Linked DNA regions of Homo sapiens: all the other regions are linked to region 4. Evidence: promoter capture Hi-C in 16 types of primary human blood cells and fetal thymus (Javierre and others, 2016). All regions are on one chromosome and are shown on one strand. Each heading gives the region's core, a stretch centred on a gene start or on the middle of the fragment in contact. The rest is flanking DNA. Distances are from core to core; before and after follow the strand shown.

Region 1 (2,700 bases), core at 107-2,606, 7.0 Mb after region 4:
AACTGATAAAACTTCTGCATTGTCCATGTAGAGAACTAGTTTACAGAACTCTCAGTGGACAAGTGGGGATTTGGATTATTTGAACCCAGTCCAACTCTAGAGCCGCACTATTGACCATTGTACAGTATCACTATTACCATTTATTTATTCAATCAACAAATATGTATTAAGCTCCCATGTCAGGCATTAAGTGCTGGGGAAAGAGGAAAGAAGAAAATAGCCATAGTTCTTGCCTTCATAAAACGTGGCAGAGGGAGAGAGACAGGCACTGAACAGCTAAACACATAAATAACTATGTTGTTATCACGATGATAAGTGCTGAAAAGGCCAGCTACAGACGACAGGCATTGTGAGAGCATATAACAAGTGGCCTTGATCTACATTGAGGGTTAGGGAATGCCTCTCTGAGAAAGAAACATTTAGACAAAAACCTTAAAAATAAATGCAATCCCAGCACTTTGGGAGGCCAAGGCAGGCAGATCACCTGAGGTCAGGAGTTCAAGACCAGCCTGACCAACATGGAGAAACCCCATCTCTACTAAAAATACAAAATTAGCCGGGCATAGTGGTGCATACCTGTAATCCCAGCTACTCGGGAGGCTAAGGTGGGAGAATTGCTTGAACCCAGGAGGCGGAGGTTGCGGTGAGCCAAGGTCACATCATTGCCCTCCAGCCTGGGCAACAGGAGCAAAACTCCATCTCAAAAAAAAAAAAAAAAAGAATGCAAATTGTCCAGGCAGAGAGGGCAGAAAGCATTCCAAGCAGAGGAAACAGCCTGTGCAAAGGCCCTGAAGCTTTAAAAAGTCAGGTGCGACCCACAGACAGAGAAAACAACATGGATGTGTTGAGATGAGGAATTTGTCATCTGTGATCCTGCAGATGCAAGAACAGGGCATATCATGCCCCATCTGAGGAGTCCTGCTGAGGAGGTAAGCCTTTATCCTTCCTAAAACAAGAGGAAAACAGAAATGAGATTTAAGTGGGAAAACAACATGATCACTCATGAGGATTTGCCAGGATCAATCCACCAGTCTCCCTCTTTGAATCCTCTTTAGCAACAAAATGCTTACAAATTTGAAAGAATTTTCAGTACTATTTTTAATCACCTTATCCTCTCTCTAGTAAGAGACAGAAATAGTTACAAACTATAGTGGTGCTATGGCTTGCCATCAAAATCTCACTTTCATAATGAGACATCCCTCAGCTCTGGGAGTGCTTGCCACCTGCACACGATCCTCGTGTCAGCCCTCTTCAGAAACTTCCATGGCTAAAGAAAGCTGCCATGCCCAGGGGCAGCCTGAATACATTCTACAGGTATAAAGGCTTGGCCTGTCTACCAACTTAGGACAACTGTGAGCTTCAGAGCATCTGAACCCTCTGTGGGATCAGCTGAAGTCTTTGTTATAATGGCATCTGATGTACCCCAATGCAATTTGGCCAGTAACAATCCAGAGTTACCTCCAATCCCACAAGTTAAGGCCACAGTCCCAAGCAAGACTGAAGATGTCCCCACTCCAGACACCATCCATAAGTTCAGGGGTCTGCAGGCCACCAGCACTCCGGCCCAACTGGCTACAAATTCAGAGTTTCTCACAATTCCATCATATTTGATAATTTACTAGAATAACTTATAAAACTCAGGAAAGCACTATACTTATGGTTGCTGTTTTATTATAAAGGAAACAAATCAGAGCGTCTGTGTCCTCTCCCCATGGAATTAGAACATGTGACCCTCCCTCACATCCATGTCCTTACAAACTAGGATGTTCCACTGAGCTTCAGTGTCTGCAGTTTTTATTGGGGTTTCATTATGTAGCCATGATTGATTGACTGAATCATTGGCTCCATGATTCAACTCAATTTCCAGCCTCCTTTCCCTGCTTAAAGGTCAAGAGATTGGGCTGATAACATGTGGCTCAAAGCTTCAACCCTTTAATCACATGGTTGGTCTTTCTGGGATGACCAGTTCCCATCCTGAGTTATCTCCTTAGCACTAATTCAGATGTCGTCCAAGGGCCCAACATAAAGAGAGTAACTCTTTAGGGAATAAAGGGAATACATAAACCTAAAGAGAATAAAGGGAATACATAAAGAGAATAAAGGGAATATATAAACCAGGATACACAAACCAGGAAGTCACTGCATATTCACTAAAGAGAGCAACAAAGATACTCTTATGACTTGGGAGACCCCAAGGATTTAAAATGAACCAATCCCGTGAACCAGGGATAAAGGCCAGTCAAATTCATTGTCATGCAACAGCATCACAGTCAACTTTTCCTTATCTGATTCTACTTTTATCTTTTCTTTCCACTGATATTGATCCTAAATGTACTTCTTAATAAACATTCTAAATGCTAATCTTTGCCTCAGAGTCTAGTTTTCATGGAAGCCGACCTAAAAGATTTGGTGCCAGAAGTGGTGCCAGAAAGAAAGCAGACATTATGATTGGATTTTGGAGTTGGTCACCCATTGCTGGCTGGCAATGAATCTGTGGTGGAGGTAGGACACAAGGAAGCAGGGCAATTGTTAAAACTTTCACCTGTAGCTTACTGGGAAAAAAGCATGTGGTGTACTGCAAAAGGCATGCAGTTCTCACATATGGGGGAACTGGTAACTATAAGCTCCCTAGAATTTGATGGCTATTGCTAAGTAGAATTAATATTTTGGGGAGAGATAATGAAAGGCTGGAAGTTATTT
Region 2 (2,700 bases), core at 147-2,646, 7.6 Mb after region 4:
CATGTAAAAAGAGTTCAAGTGTACTTTCATCCCAGCCATTCTCTGGACACTTGCCCTTAAAAAAAAAAAAAAACTTATGATTATATTTAATAAAACTACCGTTCTCTAGAATACTACAGGAATACAGTTTTTCTTTTTAACGTGTATTTTGCCACGCTGCTTGTTTTCTAAAATTCAAGCATAAATTCACCACTGTATAGAGACCGCAAAGAGGCAAAACGTTTGTACATTTGATTACAATTATTTACAGATTTCGAGAAGTGATGATAAATGCATACAATGAGGTTTACTGAGATATTTAAATTTCCGTAAGTGAAACTAACTGAAAACCAATACAACACATCCCCAGTGAAGATGCTTCAAACCAGGGCGTTACGACTGGGGCGGTGGGACGTGGAGAAGGGCGGTAGTTGTCAAACTTCAGTGAAATTTTGGCCACGCGCTGTAGCTCACTCACGCCTGTAATCCGAGCACTTTGGAAGGCCAAGAATGGCCGATCACTTGAAGTCAGGAGTTTGAGATCAGCCTGGCCAACATGGTGAAACCCCATCTCTACTAAAAATACAAACATTAACCGGGTGTGGTGGCGGGCGCCTGTAGTCCCAGCTACTCGGGAGGCTGAGGCAGGCGAATGGCGTGAACCCGGGAGGCGGAGGCTGCAGTGAGCCGAGATCGTCACACTGCATTCCAGCCTGGGCGAAAGAGCGAGACTCTGTTTCAAAAAAACAAAACACAACAAAACTTTTAATGAAATTAAAATACATGAACGCTGGCAGGAGGGAGACCTGTGAAGTTCCGCGGAAAGCTCGTGGTTCGAGTTAGCATACAGTCTACAAACACCATTATGTGTTCTGAGTCGTTGAGGGTTGGTGAAAGATGGAGGTGCGAACTTTGCCCTTTCCGCGAATAAAAAAGTACACTGGGACTTTCCCTCACTTCCGCATCCCGAAGTTAGAAACAGCGGGACTCAAAACCCCGACCCCAACACCCCCTCCTAACAACACCATTTGGCTTTCACTGGCTTTGGCAAGGCTGAGAAGGCACAGACCGCAGTCGGTCAGCTAGGGCAAGCCAAGCTGAGACAGACTTGGGACTAGTCTCAAGCAGCGAAGAGCTGCCGGTGAGGCAGCACCAGCGGGGACGCCCGGCGGAGCCAGAGCCCCGGGGTCGCGGCGGCTGGGGAGGGGACCGACAGCTCGGTACCTTCTCCAGAAGCAGCCGTATGAGGTGCTCATGCGAGCGGCGGGCCTCACAGCCCTGCCGCACGTAAGCCGGCGACACCAGCCGCTCTCCCGCCGCGAAGCTCTCGCGGTTCATGACAGCGGTGGCGACAGTGGCGAATAAGCGGGAGCACTAGCTCCACACGCCAGACACACGACGGAACCAGAATGCAACTCGCCGCCTGGACGGTACGGCAGCGCCTTGGGACAAAAAACAAAACAAAACAAAACAAAACAAAAAAAACACTTCTCGTTCGTGCACATGCGCAGACCTTCTCAGATGGCGCTCCAGGAGGAAGTTGGCGTATTTGAGCATGCGCGAGGGAGTCCGCGCTTTTCGCTGACTTTTGGCAAAGGAAGGACTGAAATTAGCCCCGCCCCGCTGCGGCTGATTCGTCTAGTTAAACCCTGGTGTTCCTGACACAAACTTCAGGAAAGGATTTTGCACTTGTGCAGACCGGGCGAGCAGAGTAAGAAGCAGGTACGTGGGTTTTTCCAAGTTCTGTGTTTCAGTCCTGTTGGATGGTTGAGATCTGTGCAGGGTCTGTGCTTCCGCCTTATTCAAACTGTCAGATGCCAGAACCTTCGATCTTTACTTTGATACATTTCCACACTTATTACTGCCTCACAACCCCATAGGAAATAGCAGTGCCCCACTCATTTTCCCCTTGACACTACTGTTTAGCCATAGCACTTACTACTCACCACGTGACATGCCAGACGTTTGTTTATACACACACACACACACACCCATACCCATGAATGTAAACTCTCTAACCTAACGGCAGGACCTCGGTTTTTGCTGCGGTGCCCCCTTCCCCCGGGCACCTAAAACAGTGCCCAGAATAAAGTAGGGCCTAAAAAAAAAGTTGATATTGAATTAATGAATTAGTTTGACCATTCTGAAACTATCCCCAAGAACATTTTGTAAAATTGATTAAGGAGGGGAAAAAAATCCAACTAGGCTTACAGCTGCTGTTATTAAGCCAGCTTGCAGTGTGGCCGACTTTCTTGTAGCTGGTTGCTACTTACTACCCCAGGAGAATGTGGCCCTTGTCACAAGACTCTTCATTCTTTTTCTGCTCTGAAGATAAAATCTAAGACATTATGAGAAGATAAGCTTTCTGTTTGCATTGCTTCTTTAGGTCCCGCATACCAACAAAACTAAGGACGCCAACTTGTCTGGAAGGCCCAATAAAAAGCTGATTCATGGAGGAATGCAATTGTCACATCCTAATGATTTCATCTCCCTTACCCCAACGAATCGATAACCCCAAATTTTCCAGCCCCTCACCCTCCACAAATCCCCTTAAAAAACTTTGCCTAGAACCCCTTGATGAAATGGATTGAAGCTTGAGAACTCTTCCTGTTTCCTGGCTTGTAACTTGTGATTATTAAAACTTTCTCTGCTGCAAGCCTGCTGTCGGAATACTGGTCTGTTTCTGCACAGCCGGCATAGGAACCTGGCAGTGCTGTAACA
Region 3 (2,700 bases), core at 101-2,600, 7.5 Mb before region 4:
CACCTGATGGGCGTGCTCTGTGTAGATGTCAGCAAGGGCTGGGTTCTGCAGGAGGAGACCCCGGAATGAACAGAAGGAATGGAGAAGCAGTCAAGCTTCCAGCTCTCCACATCAACAGATATGGGGTGAAAGGGGTGTACAAAGAAACACTGAAGCTAAAACCGTGAAGAAAACCGCAGAAGCATACCACTTGCCTACGTATCTACTGCCTGCCTACCTATCTCTGGGTGATAGAATTTCATGTTACTTTAATTCGTTCTCCTTAGTCTATGACTGTACAACAAGGTGATTTTTTTCCTTTTCTGCTTTTCTGTACTTTCCATAATACAGAACAAATATATCAGTGAAACAGATACACAAAAGGTGGATTAGAGCAAGAAGCCCTGGTTCTAATCCCTCCCATTTGTGGGAAGCTGCATTCATTCCAGCGCTCTGTTCTCTTCCGTGTTTAGGACCAGCTCTCCTGGCTGCCAATCAATGTTGGACCCCAAACTCAGCGCCTGGCTGTGCTGTGCAGGAGCAGAGCAGGACACGCTGTGGGAGCCCTCTCTATCAAAAACTTGGGTTTGGAAAGGAAAGTCGATTCCCCACTCCCTTGCATAGCACAGATCAAAGGCTGGGTGGACTTTGTGGCAAAAATGGGGCCAACATTTGAGACTAGAAGCATCTTCAGCAATGAGGTTTCAACATGTAATGTGCTAAAAGTAGATCCCTGCGCCTCCCTCCCGGCATACACACACACGCAGGGCCTCAGTGAAACAGAAACACACACACACACTGGGCTGCTCTCAATCTGTCTCCACAGTGAAGCTTTCTTTCAGGAGGGAATAAAGACATGGCCATCTAATCTCTGCTACCTACTGTCAGCTTTTTACAAACCAAGTGCTCTTTGAAAGAGGCAGCTTCCCGCCAGCTTGAGGCTTAGGACACACCAGACTCCTGTGAGGGTGCCCGGGCACCCCTAGCATGACCCCACCTGCTGCCACCCCACCCCTCATCTCCCTTAGACCCCTCCTCAAGACCTGAGGGGCCCCCATCTCACGAGACTGAGACCACAGAAGTACAGACCCTGATTCCTGCCCACCTTCTGCCATCCTGTTTAAGCTCCACGTCTGTGTGTAGTCTGTGCCCTTGGCCAGCACCTCTCCCTGCCTACGGACACCCACTCACCCATCAGGCCTAACGGAAGCGTTCCCTCCTCCATGAAGCCTCCAAGTATGGCCCAAGCTATCCGTATCAACTCTTCTGTGCTTCCAGATCATTTAACATGTCCACCGGGATGGCACAACACACATCATAGTCCCTAGCATTCCTGTCCATCTCCTCCAACTCTGCTGTGCCCTGCTTAACATGACCTTTATCTCACTAGCCATCTCAATAAGTGGTTTGGGGGAGAAAAAAAGAAGTACACACAGACCTTCTCTTTCATCCCTAAGACTTAACACAGCATTATGTGATATAATAGACACCAGTCATAAATTAATCCATTTTGGGATAATCGTTCGCCAGTGAAATTAGAATGTATCAAGGTGTCTATCCAAAGAAGATACTACGAATGACAAGTAAGCACATGAAAAAGCGCTCAGTGTCATTAGTCTTGGGAAATGCAAGTCAAAACTACAACAGAATACCACTCCATACTCACTAGAATCAATAAAAAGAAAAGACTGACATCACCAAGTGCTGGCAAGGGTAGAGGGGTGGGGACACTGGAATGTTCACACTGCTGGTGGAAATGCAAAATGGTACAGTTGGAAAAGAGTTGGGCAGGTTATTTATAAACCTAAACAGACACTACTCACACCAAACACCAGCAACCCCACTCCTAGGTATCTGCCCTGGAGAAATGGAAGCATGTGTCCACCAAAAGACACAGGAGCAATGTTCACAGAAGCTTTCTTTGCAATGGCCAAAAACTGGAAATACCCAAATATCCATCAACAGGTGAACAGAGAAACAGGCAACACACCGCACTGCTTAGTGATAGAAAGGAACAAAGTGCAAATGCACTCAACACCAGCTATCAATCGCCAACATGTTATGCAAAGTGAAAAAGCCAGACAGAAAAGACTACACATTGCCTCTCACTTCATATGAAAGAAGATTTTAGAAAAGGCAACCCCAATGACAGAAAGCAGATAAGCAGCTGCTGGGGGTGAGGGTGGAAGGGGTGGCGGGGGCGGGGGGCACCCTCCGGAGTGACAGGAATGTTCTGTCATGACAGGGGTGGTGCTTATGGGACTATATAGGTCATCTGTCAAGATCCAAGCCACACACTGAATACAGACAAATTCTACTGTATCTAAAGTACACCTCAATAAAACTAAGATGCTGGCTATTTATTAAATGTCTGCCCAATCCAACCCTCTCCCACTCCAATTAGTCCTTCATATTCTGACACTGACACATCCCTACCCAAAGCACCTGGCAAGAAAATGATCCACTTAACAGGCAGCCCCTCCAAGACCCTGTTCGGTGTACACTCACAGCTGACTGGGGATGGGGGAGGTCTCACGCTCACATACAGGGGCACCTGCCCATCCCGCCAGACAGATGGCCTCGTGGGCTCTCCCAGCCTGGACGACCTCCTCCCCAGGCCGTGCTGCCGTAGAAAGGGTGGGGCTCCCATGGGCCTTCCGCTGGGGAGGGCATCCAGAGATGGAAGATGCCTGGGCAGGGGCATGAGAGGAAGTTCTGCCC
Region 4 (2,700 bases), core at 201-2,700:
GTTCTAGGCAGAAATATAGTTATAATTAAGCATTAATCAGGCTGTACTTTGGCCCACTTCCTTGTTGCTAAAAGTCACCTAGCACTACATACTGACCATTTGCATTCCCATTGTTCCTATAGACAGGATCTCTGACATTAGAATCATAAGCTTTCTGTTTAAGGATCGCTTAAGATATTTTTCAGACCTTGAATTCCAGCTACCAGTTTGAAGATCCCCAGAGAGGAATGGGGTCAGCTTAAGAATACAGGTTCTTCAACGCCCTGTCCCATGACTTCACCCTGCACTCTTCAATCAACGATCTCCACACTATAGCCCTCTCCAAAACCCTTAAAAACCTTGACCCCAAATTCCTCAGGGAGATGGATTTGAGGTTTCCTCCCATCTCCTCCTTTGGCGACTCCACGATTACACCTCTTTCTCTGCTGCAACCCTGGTGTCTGGGCGTATTGACTTGCTATGTGCACGAGTCAACGAACCTAATAGTGTTACATCATTTTCAAAAACAGTATTTACACCGTTGCACCTGTGGAACAGATGAAAGGACACGAATAAAAATAACTCAGGCCAGGTGCGGTGGCTCACGCCTGTAATCCCAGCACTTAGCGAGGCCGAGGCAAGTGGATCACGAGGTCAGGACTTCGAGACCAGCCTGGACAACATGGTGAAACCTCGTCTCTACTAAAAATACAAAGAGTTGCCGGGCACGGTGGCTCACGCCTGTAAGTAATCCCAGCACTTTGGCAGGCTGAGGCGGGTGTATCACCAGAGGTCAGGAGTTCAAAGCCAGCCTGGCTAACATGGCCAAACACTGTCTCTACTAAAAATACAAAGATTAGCCAGGTGTGGTGGTGGGCGCCTGTAGTCCCAACTACTCGGGAGGCTGAGGCAGGAGAATCTGTTGAACCCGAAAGGCGGAGGTTGCAGTGAGCCGAGATTGCGCCACTGCACTCCAGCCAGGGCTACAAGAGCGAGACTCCGCCTCAAAAAAAAAATCCAAAAAAACAACAAAAAAACACAAAGATTAGCTGGGCGTGGTGGCGGGCGCCCCTAATCCCAGCTACTCGGGAGGACGAGGCAGGAGAATCGTTTCAACTAAGCAGCGGGAGGTTGCAGTGAGCCGAGATCGCTCCATTGCACTCCAACCTGGGTGACAGAGCGAGACTCCGACTCAAAAAAACCAAACAAACAAACGAAAACTCAGTGGGAGTGTCTTCACTATGCAGTCGTCTATTCAGCAACCTTGACAACAAGCTCTGGCACTCAGTTTCTATTTCCCGGGAGTTGCCCAGCGCTCCGCCCACGCCCGCTTGCAGAACTCGCCCCGCCTCCGCCCCACCCATCGTGTGACGTCACCATATCGGTCCCGCCCCTCTACTTCGCGTTGCTCCCGGGACTGTCAACCGCGTCCGGAAGCCCCGCCTTTTCGCCCCCGCCCGCATGCGCGGGCGCACACGAATGCGGGCGCACACGAATGCGGGCGCACACGAATGCGGGCGCACCCTTGAGTCCCCTCCACAACCGCGGTTTGATCCCAGCGGTCCAGTCGGCCGGTGCTGCCCATCCGTCCCGCCCCCTAGACGCACGTCCGCTCGCCCGGCGCCCGAGCCAGTCCGCGCGCACGCCGTCTGCGCCCCGAAAGCCCCGCCCCAAGGCGCGCCCGCCCACCGCTCTCCACGTGCTCGCTGGAGGGCGGTGCGAGGGGCCGAGCCGACAAGATGTTCTTGCTGCCTCTTCCGGCTGCGGGGCGAGTAGTCGTCCGACGTCTGGCCGTGAGACGTTTCGGGAGCCGGAGTCTCTCCACCGCAGACATGACGAAGGTGAGAGGCGGCGGCTCGCTCATGGTCCGCCGCTGGGGCCCTGCCCGTGGGCTACTGGGGCTGCGGGGCTGGTCGAAGCCGCGGTGTCCTGGGCGCCCAAGCCAAGTTGCAAAAATCAGTTTAAAAGAAAAATTCTCTCCTTGCGGGGATCGGCCTAGGCCGCTGAGGACCCCAGCGGTCGTATTGAGGGCGCGATTCCCCTGCTCGGGGCTAGGGGGTGATGGTTGTAGCCGCCCTTTACCCGGCTCCACTCGGCCGCGCACTTGCTCCAGTCGTCACCCGCGGTCCTGGCAGTAACCCGGGGAAAGACGCGGCGGTGGGGCTCCCATCCGAGCTTGGAGGAAGCCCGAGTTTGCCAAGGTGAAAGGGTTTCTGAGGTCCCAGAGTCACAGGGCTCCTTCCCCCGCGGAAGTGAAAGGTCAGGGAGTTAAGTAGCTTGGAAGGGTTTCTAGAGGAAAAGCATGCCTCTCTAGAGAAAAGGGCTTTGGGGAGAGACCCACGTTTCCCAGAATTAAGAGCATCTTCCAGAAGAAAAGTGAACTCCAAAAAATTACGAAGGTCGCTCTTCAGATGTGAAGGATCTGCAAAGGGAATGGCTCTCGGAACCAGCACAAGCTTGGGAGTCATGCCTAAGCACCAGAAAGAGATGACTGTCCCTGCAGAAGAACGTTCTAGGGGGAGCTTGAGCTCCAGTCTCCTGCAGGTATCTCAGTGGTGGAGGGACCAGTCGCCTGACCAGTGCTATCTCCAGTACTGTGCCACAGCCTACCCAGATAACAGTTGCTCAGTTGGCTCCATTGATTCCCGGGGAGTGAACAATCTTAGGGAAGTTAGAACCTGGCAGAGTTACCAATGCCAAGGAAGGCCGTTTTCTTTGGTG
Region 5 (2,700 bases), core at 139-2,638, 7.8 Mb after region 4:
TGTCAACAGGTTGACTCATTTAAATGTGTCCTACATAAAGCAACATCAGATGAGTTCTGATTTACAAGTCTGCCAGGCTGGCCTGTGAGCCTCTGGGCAGAGTTCCCGTCCCATGCATTGCTGTAGCCTCAGTTCCTCCACATAGTAAATGCCCAAGTACCTATAGAAGAAATCGTGTGTGAGCCCACACTCTTTTTTTATATTTTAGAGACGGAGTCTGGCTCTGTTGCCCAGGCTGGAGTGCAGTGGCACAATCTCGGCTCACTGCAAGCTCCGCCTCACTGCAAGCCCCGCCTCACTGCAAGCTCCGCCTCACTGCAAGCTCCGCCTCCCGGGTTCACGCCATTCTCCTGCCTCAGCCTCCCCAGTAGATGGGACTACAGGTGCCCGCCACCATGCCTGGCTACTTTTTTGTATTTTTTAGTAGAGACGGGGTTTCACCATGTTAGCCAGGATGGGCTCTATCTCCTGTCCTTGTGATCCGTCCGCCACGGCCTCCCAAAGTGCTGGGATTACAGGCGTGAGCCACCGCGCCCGGCCCTGAGCCCACACTCTTTATTCGTTATGACGGTGCTGCAACTACCAATAAGTTGTGAGGGTTAAATGGGATGAGATGTCACAGTATTATTTGCCTGTTAGGGAGGTTTTAGGGCACGCGCCTCTTCTCTCCAAATTGGAATCACCCAAAGAGTTTTAGTAAATACTGGGCCCATCCAGGGTTAATTTTCTTCTAATTGGTTTGGGGTGCTGCTTGGACAGGGGGACTTTTAAAATTCTATACTGACCCACCAGGACTGACATGAGAACTACTCGCTTAGTAACTGTTAGAGGAGGCGCCAGCTGATCAGGACCTAAAGTTCATATTCTTTTTCATCTCCCCGTTGTCGCTGAAGCCTACCCCATAAACCCCTACCGTCCCTTTGCCCACAGCAGAGAATTTCCGGGAAAACGGGAAAGGTATGCAAGCATGCCCACACACGTGCACACACGGGTTCCCAAAAGACCTGCGTGTGGCCGCAGGGGCCTGCCCCGCCCTTCTCGGGCCCTTTCAGGTCCCGGCGCCCAGCGATCCCACCAGCACCTGGGTCCGGCGCGCGGCTCCCTCCCTCTCCGCGCCCCTCGGGGCTCCCTGCCCCGCCCGCGTGCCCCACCCTTCCTAGCTCTGCCCCATCGCTGCTCCCTGCCCCGCCCACGGGCCCCATCCTACCCCCACCTCGATCCGCCCCTCGCTCCTCCCTGCCCCGCCCACCGCGCCCCGTCCCTGTCCGCCCCTTCTGGCTCTCAGCACCCCCAAGACCGGTGCGCGCCCCGCCCCTCCTCCTCCTCTCGCGAGGCAGTCCCGACGCCGGAAGTGCCTGGAGCGCGCGACAGCGGCGGGGCGGGGCGGCCTGGAGGCTGTGGCGCGCGGCCGGCAGAGGGAGGGGAGAGGCCACTGGGGCCGTGTTAGTCTGCCGGTGGGGACTCTTGCAGGTACAGGCGCGGTCGGGGCTCCTCGTGGAGAGCCGGGGGCTCCTGCCGGCCTCTGACTGGGGTGTCGTTGCAGGGCCGTCCCCATGTTGCGTTTTCCGACCTGTTTCCCATCCTTCCGGGTGGTGGGAGAGAAGCAGCTCCCGCAGGAGATTATTTTCCTGGTCTGGTCGCCCAAGCGGGATCTCATTGCTTTGGCCAACACAGCTGGCGAGGTGAGTGAGCCGGCGGGAGCCCGCCTGTGCTGGGTCTGCTCCCGGGGGGCCCAAGAACACCGAGCCCGAGCCTGTTCATTCGGGCCACAGGCGGCCGGAGCCTCAGTTTCCCCTTCTGCAGACATGGCTGGCCACCTGCTACCCCTTCCCTGCCTCCCAGGACGGCAGTAAACTTTAAGTATATATGCGAAAGGTGATGTCTGTGCTATTTTCGGTACTTTTATGGCTAAAGTAACAGTTTTCACACAGCTTAACACCGTCACGCAATCCTGCTTCCCCAAGTCTTCTTCACTCATTGGTTTATTAGTTAAATGAACTTTTTAAAAAAGCCCACTATGTGCTGCTCATGAGCTAGACATAATGGTAGATGCAGGGACCCTGCCCTAAGTTTGCTTACAGTTTTAATAGCAGTAGGAAGAGTTATTGTCAAACTTCAGCTGCAAATGTGCCTGCATGTAGCTGCCACACAGGATATATTTAAGAACCTGGCTTCTCTTGTCCACGTTTTATAGTACGGGTTGGATAACCACCCTCCACTAAAAATACCTCTAAATTGGACAAGGAAGGCATGCATTGGATTCCAGACAGAACGTGCATGGGTGTTATCAGCATTTCTTGTTCACATAAAACTTCATCGAGTATAAACCAGTTGTACCCAACTTTCTGCTGAGAGTTATTACCTGCCAGCCATTTTGTAAGGAAACCTTCACCTGTGCATCTTTCCGCCTCTGGCTTGAGAGTTATCTGGCCATGTGAGAGTTGTATAGAGCCAAATTTGGAAACTAGGTGATAAGGAAATCTTAGCACCCTGCAGACTGTAGTCTGCACCATGTTATCTACCATGATCCAGTCGCCAGGGTATTGATGTCTAATTTTTCAGGGCCCTCCATGAAATCTAGCTAGTCTCCCTCCGCTGCCGGGATGCTTTGAAACTCTGTTGTGGCTCTAGAGAGCAGCAGGTGGTACCGTCACAGAAGTAGGAGGGAAGGTAGACGGGAGGCACATCCGTGCAATCAGA

Evidence for each region. The method cuts DNA at HindIII sites, captures the fragments that hold promoters and counts their contacts. A CHiCAGO score of 5 or more calls a contact.
Region 1: a fragment that was not itself captured here is called in contact with the fragment with the promoter of LAP3 in region 4 in 1 of 17 cell types (non-activated CD4 T cells); the score reaches 5.8 in non-activated CD4 T cells.
Region 2: a contact is called between the fragment with the promoter of SEPSECS here and the fragment with the promoter of LAP3 in region 4, in 2 of 17 cell types (non-activated CD4 T cells and total CD8 T cells). The highest score is 6.5, in non-activated CD4 T cells.
Region 3: a fragment that was not itself captured here is called in contact with the fragment with the promoter of LAP3 in region 4 in 2 of 17 cell types (neutrophils and activated CD4 T cells); the score reaches 7.8 in neutrophils.
Region 5: a contact is called between the fragment with the promoter of ANAPC4 here and the fragment with the promoter of LAP3 in region 4, in 2 of 17 cell types (total CD4 T cells and activated CD4 T cells). The highest score is 8.6, in total CD4 T cells.

The regions. Positions count from the first base shown.
Region 1 is chr4:24,588,460-24,591,159 of GRCh38, forward strand. LOC124900682 (a long non-coding RNA gene) reads right to left here. Exons shown (of 2, transcript XR_007058078.1): 2 at 128-946. Among named protein-coding and RNA genes, the nearest start is that of DHX15, 5.3 kb to the left of the region's middle. The HindIII fragment of the contact is 1,128 bases long and covers 793-1,920 here.
Region 2 is chr4:25,159,053-25,161,752 of GRCh38, forward strand. SEPSECS (Sep (O-phosphoserine) tRNA:Sec (selenocysteine) tRNA synthase) reads right to left here and starts at 1,397. Exons shown (of 11, transcript NM_016955.4): 1 at 1,204-1,397; 2 at 1-55. The coding sequence starts at 1,317. SEPSECS-DT (SEPSECS divergent transcript) reads left to right here and starts at 1,620. Exons shown (of 2, transcript NR_037934.1): 1 at 1,620-1,701. RefSeq lists a silencer at 1,081-1,250 and an enhancer at 1,361-1,660. The HindIII fragment of the contact is 2,962 bases long and covers 1-2,338 here.
Region 3 is chr4:10,103,942-10,106,641 of GRCh38, forward strand. It overlaps WDR1 (WD repeat domain 1), which reads right to left. Exons shown (of 15, transcript NM_017491.5): 3 at 1-45. Among named protein-coding and RNA genes, the nearest start is that of WDR1, 12 kb to the right of the region's middle. The HindIII fragment of the contact is 1,084 bases long and covers 809-1,892 here.
Region 4 is chr4:17,575,748-17,578,447 of GRCh38, forward strand. LAP3 (leucine aminopeptidase 3) reads left to right here and starts at 1,451. Exons shown (of 13, transcript NM_015907.3): 1 at 1,451-1,820. The coding sequence starts at 1,719. RefSeq lists enhancers at 1,099-1,458, 1,799-1,998 and a silencer at 1,519-1,728. The HindIII fragment of the contact is 2,285 bases long and covers 149-2,433 here.
Region 5 is chr4:25,375,875-25,378,574 of GRCh38, forward strand. It overlaps ANAPC4 (anaphase promoting complex subunit 4), which reads left to right and starts at 1,389. Exons shown (of 29, transcript NM_013367.3): 1 at 1,389-1,470; 2 at 1,544-1,682. The coding sequence starts at 1,554. RefSeq lists a silencer at 1,092-1,511 and enhancers at 1,632-1,691, 1,722-1,791. The HindIII fragment of the contact is 5,076 bases long and covers 1-2,700 here.